2 separate regions of the Homo sapiens genome follow, and region 1 is linked to region 2. Evidence: promoter capture Hi-C in 16 types of primary human blood cells and fetal thymus (Javierre and others, 2016). All regions are on one chromosome and are shown on one strand. The core of a region is centred on a gene start or on the middle of the fragment in contact, and the rest is flanking DNA. Distances in the headings are between cores, read along the strand shown. Region 1 overlaps HOMER1 (homer scaffold protein 1). Region 2 holds the start of OTP (orthopedia homeobox).

What was found. The method cuts DNA at HindIII sites, captures the fragments that hold promoters and counts their contacts. A CHiCAGO score of 5 or more calls a contact.
Region 1: a fragment that was not itself captured here is called in contact with the fragment with the promoter of OTP in region 2 in 2 of 17 cell types (total B cells and naive B cells); the score reaches 17.5 in total B cells.

What each region holds. Positions count from the first base shown.
Region 1 is chr5:79,510,348-79,513,063 of GRCh38, forward strand. HOMER1 (homer scaffold protein 1) reads right to left here. Exons shown (of 9, transcript NM_004272.5): 1 at 2,423-2,716. The coding sequence starts at 2,427. It also overlaps the pseudogene RPL29P15. Among named protein-coding and RNA genes, the nearest start is that of HOMER1, 2.4 kb to the right of the region's middle. The HindIII fragment of the contact is 1,134 bases long and covers 690-1,823 here.
Region 2 is chr5:77,637,241-77,640,092 of GRCh38, forward strand. OTP (orthopedia homeobox) reads right to left here and starts at 1,473. Exons shown (of 3, transcript NM_032109.3): 1 at 1,273-1,473. The coding sequence starts at 1,309. RefSeq lists enhancers at 1,459-2,015, 2,016-2,570. The HindIII fragment of the contact is 2,017 bases long and covers 478-2,494 here.

The sequences.
Region 1 (2,716 bases), core at 7-2,506, 1.9 Mb after region 2:
CTTTAAACAACAGCCCCCTTAGTATTAAATTCATCCTGTCTCTTCAGATTCTAGGCGCTTCAGGAGCCGCGCCTTAAGGTGCAGACATGGCCAAGTCCAAGAACCACACCACACACAACCAGTCCCAAAAATGGCACAGAAATGGTATCAAGAAACCCGAAGCACAAAGATACGAATCTCTTAAGGGGGTGGACCCCAAGTTCCTGAGGAACATGCAGTTTGCCAAGAAACACAACAAGAAGGGCCTAAAGAAGATGCAGGCTAACAGTGCCAAGGCCATGAGTGCACATGCCAAGGCTATCAAGGCCCTCCTAAAGCCCAAGGAGGTTAAGCCCAAGATCCCAAAGGGTGTCAGCCGCAAGCTCAACTTGCCTACACTGTCCACCCCAAGCTTGGGAAGCATGCTCGTGCCCGCATTGCCAAGGGGCTCAGGGTGTGCTGGCCAAAGGCCAAGGACAAGGATCAAACCAAGGCCCAGGCTGCAGCTCCAGCTTCAGTTCCAGCTCAGGCTCCCAAAGGTGCCCAGGCCCCTACAGAGGCTTCAGAGTAGATATCTCTATCTGCCAACGTGAGGACAGGACTGGTGCGACCCCCCGCCAGGCTGCCATCTGCATGGGGCTGTGGGGCTGGGGTCCTCCTGTGCTATTTGTACAAAGAAACCTCAGGCAGGGAAAAAAAAATTCATCCTAAGCTTCCCTTGGTAAAATGACAGGCATTCATGCAGCTTAAAGGTTCTGGAAAACTGATTTTCTTCCATGATGCTACTACTCCACAGTCTAGACAAAATGCAGCCATCAACATGAAAAACTGCTGCTTGATTTTTTTTCCTCCAACATGTTTTAAACAGAGCTGCAGATGCTCAAGGGAAGCCATATTTCTAAGGTTTTGAACAGTAGTATTTTTCAGTATTTTTCTCATTTAAAATTGGTGCAATTCATCCAAAACATTTTTCAAATGCCATTATTTTTCAGCGTTAAGCGCTTAAACTGCTTAGAGTGAAAAAGGTCTCCATCAGAAAGATCGACTTGCAGAAACCAACTAGTGATCATTAAAATGAGGAGGAGAATAAAAAGAAAGCAATTCGTTTTTTACAGTTTGGAGAAATCTTTAAGTCATCTCTAAATCGTTCATTTTACAGGTAAGAAATAGAGTCCACAGAGGTCAAGTAATTTGCCTCAGATCACTAAGCTACTAATAGCAGCGCTAGAAATAGAATGAGGTATTTTAATTACTCTTAGCGGTACCCCCAAATCATGCAAGTTATATATATTCTCATCACTTGTCATTCAAGTTTTTAAAACCATTATAACTTTGTCATTAATTTCTGAGGAACGTCTCCTACAACATGCTCTAAATTTTCAAAGTTATGCATGTTAAACTTCAAATTCTAACTCCAAAAGGAAGGTACTATTCAAGAACTTTCCTCAGAAAGTTTCAAGCGTGTGTACACACCTAAACCATCACGATGAATTGCAGAGTCCATTCTTTAAAACATGCCCCTCAACTACACTTCAGATGTGTTTGTTCAACCACACACACACAAAAAGAGAAAATTCTGGAAGTTCTTCTGCCAAAAAGCAGTGACAACCTGTCAATGAAATCAGATTGCTCCATTAATATATTATGGGTTTCCAGCTTAAATTAGGAAGTGTCACTAGCATTTCATCAACCCACAGTGTGAAGAGTTAATAAAAGACTGGAAAATGCACTCTCAGTTGGCTCTGGGTCCGAAGGAAGGTGTAGATCTGATACTGTTAACTCAAACTGAAGGGCTGAGCTTAAAAGCGAAAAACAAAAGGAGTGAACAAGTTCCTTAAACAAAAAGCTTTTTCCTACGAAATGCACCCGTACCGTGGTGACCGCATCAGTAAGACTGAATTTCAGATTTTCGTTTTAACGCCCCAGTAAATCAATTCTATACATTTTAGCTTTGAATATTCAAGGACAAGACAGAGGGCACGGTGAGGGCAACAATTTACTCTGGATCACTTTCAAGGACTGTTGTCTAACCACTCATTAAAATCGTTCCTTTGTGCAACTGATTATCTAAAAGTACTGAGAGAATGCAGTACTTCTCTTTGAAAGATAACCGTCAGCAAAAGCTAAAATAATGTGATTTTGATTACAAACTGATGCAGCAGTCTGACCAGTAAAGTGTAGAATGCGTTGTCTTTGTAAACATTACTCACAAATCCATATTCAAGTTACAAACGATATATGTGTTTTTAAATTATGACCTCTGGTACCGCTCTACAAAAATGCAAAAATAACCTAAAAGGTTAGCATGCCTATTTCTTTAAAGTATGACCAGCTTAGCAAGGTGGCAAGTTTGTTTGAAAACACAAAACACAATCACCACCACCGCTCAATAATACACATACATAAACAGATTCGAAGCTGTGTTAAGCACAAAAATCCTTACCCCATTTTGCCCAATGAAAACTTGCTCTGAAGTTTCAGCTCTTATGCTACGGAATAACTTCCAAAGGAATTTCTCCGTCTGCTATTTCGCAGTTGCTTTTCCACCCCCACCCCCAGATCCTTGTCCGGAGGTATTTCAAGGATGCTGCCAATTCAATTAGTTCTCTTAGGTAAAATGATTTCTCTCTTGTAAATACCAAAACGTTCAAACAGAGGCGGCATTTGCTTATTCGAGTTAAAATGCTTTGCGGAGGAGACAGCGATCAACTCTATTCCACAAAATGAGTCTACAAGT
Region 2 (2,852 bases), core at 223-2,722:
AAGGGGATCGCGGTCACTACTTTCTTGGCGATGCCAGGAGGGGCTGTCTTCCCCGCGCAGCCTTCCTTCAACCCGTCCTCGGCCCCCTCCGCACCCGCGCTTGTCCTAAGGAAGAAACTCCCAGGGTATTCAGCTGGGTTCCCCAGAATTTGGACAGCCGGGTTGGAATAATATCTCCCGGCCCCTTGCCCTCGCCGCAGCCGGCTCCCGTAGTAAACAGCACAAGCTTTCGTCTCTCCCACAATAAAACACTCCCAGTCCCGGCAATAAAACATGCCTCTGAATCCCTTCCATAAACCGTACCCCAGGCGCCCCAGGAAATCGAGAGCAAATCTTTGGACACAGGGGTGCGGGGGGCAGAAAGAAAATTAAACAATTCCTCGGTTGCTGCGGCACCTGCGCTTCGGCAGCCTGACGAACTGTACCTCCGGCCCTCAGCCGATTCCCTCTTACTTTCGGAAGATGAATAAGCCTCCAAGCTTTCACCCCCCGAAATCAACCCAAATCAGCTCCGCCTCCCCCTCAAATCAGAGAAAGTGTTTGGAAAATGGAGTCACATCCATCACCGAAGATTCCCAATCCGGAAACCCAGAGCTCAGCAACCCAGATAGCATTAAGGAAACTCGAGTGAACTCTATGGACAACCGTGAATCAAACTTTAGAGATTTCAACTTTTCTTTCCAGAGAAATAAAAGGCGCATTCCTCACAGCCATTGGCAACGCTGAGTCCCTTGCAGAAGAGGGGGGGATGACTGTGAGGTTGAATTTGGCTTCTCTCCTTCTCAACCAGCACACTTAGCAAATCCGCCTTGATGGCAGCAGCTTCTCCTTTATGCCAGATTTTTTACAAATTACACCACACTTAGAAAAGGAGGAGAGAAGAAGATGGTGGGGAGAGAGAAACGGGGGGAGGGAAGGAGAAAGAAATCCCAAATCAAAACAAACAGGAGAGGGAAAAAAGAGAGAGAAACACCTCCTAACAAATTATCACGGGGTATATCGCCTTTCGAAAAAAAAAAAAAGGCGGGGGAGGGGGGAAGAGAAAAATAAGAAAAACAAAAAGTAACAACATTCCCCAACTCCTTTCTTGGATCTACATATTCCATAGATTTTTTTTTAAAGGCGATGTTAAATCAAATTAAACTTTAATGCAGCACAATTACTTTTAAAGAAATTAGTCCATTTAGGTCGCATTAAGGTAAAATAAGGAACAAATTGACAATTTCCTGCCCCGGCTTCTCCTGGCTGCCCGGGCGAGAGGCGCGCACTCACCTAGCCTGGCGTCCAGGAGGTCGGCATGAGACAGCATCGCGCACCGCTCCAGGGCGAAAGCTGTTCCCCCCCAAATTTTAGCGGCTTTAAGTTATTTAAAATAGATATAAGCTATAAGCTATACGATATAGATATATATAGATCACCTAAATGAAAGAAAATTCGGTTTGTGGTTAAAAAGGGGGCTTCTTGCATTATAATGTCCTTTAGAGAGACGGGGAGGTGCTTAACAGTTGAATGAACCCGTGAGCAGCTCGGCGAGGGGACCAATCAGGAGGGCAGCCTGCAAATGTCAGCGCCCGGAGAGTCCCCCACTCCGCCCGCCCGCTCGCCTGCGCCCGCCTGAAGGAGGCGGCGGCGGCAGCCCTGGCAGCTCCAGCCCGGAGCAGGAGCTAAAGCAGCCTCAGCCGCCTCGGCCTCGCCCTGAGCTTCTGGGCCCGGCTCCCTCTAGTTCTTCCCTGCGATTTTCTCCAGGCTCCCCTTTCCTTCCCCTTGGCCGGCGCTGCGCGCTTCGAAGGCGTAGCTCTGTGCCTCTGAGCTAACATCTTCCTAGGGCAGGGGCAGAGCAGGGGTCAGAGCGGGCCATGACCCTGGCGTGACCTGAGGGTCGCCCCCACCTGCGCTCTCTGGGCCTGCCGCTCATATTGGCCCGCCAGCCCAGGGCGCGACGAGGGCACACCGCGGCCTTCAGACAACGCCTGGACTTCGCCGCGGCTCAGTAGGCCTGCGCCTAGGGTCCAGGCGCCCTGGCTGTGCCCTGGGGTCTATACGAGCCCCAACCCCACAGTGGGCCTAGAGCGCAAAGAGGAGTCGGCTTCCCTGGCACCGCCAGCGCCCGCTGTCTGCTTTGGGGACCCTCGCGGAGTGTGGGTTCGAGCGCTCTGCACTCTTCTCACCGGGCTTCTTCCCGGCTCCTGCTCTTCCGCTTGGCCCACGCCCGCATCCTCGCCCCTAACTCGCTCTTTTGGTCAAAGTTTCTAAGTTCAGCTCGGCTCCCAACTCCACTTAAGGCTGTAAATAAAGTTAAATGCTCTTTATTTTCCTCTTGAATATGTTAAACTACTTGAACAATTTAAAGTGCTTTGCACAAGTGAAGCGAACCATTTCTAATGTTCTGATTTTTCAGAGCCAGCCAACAACAAAGTTTAGATTAGTAATATATTTCTAACCAGAGTAATTTTCAAGATCATTAGGCATTTATGTAATTAGTGCCAAATCTATAAGCTTTTATTACGATTATTAGAGTAAAATCAGTATAAATTTGTACTAATTTACTACTGTTTAGACTTGGCTGTCAAGCCTAGAGGTTCTTATTGTAAATGATAACTGAGGAAATTAAGTGCAAAATTCTGTACCATTTCTGATCTGCTCCTAAACAATCCGTTTCAATTGTATTTGTAGCAGAACATAATGCCCTTTTAAAGTTATTTGACTTGTATTTTTATTTGCAACACAAGAAAAATGCCCTCTACCCAGTCACAATGAAAACTGATATTTACTACTCCCAACTTGATTAACATTGATTTTTAATTCGAGAGTGATGCAATTAAGATTATTCATTTAGTGCAAATAAACCTTCC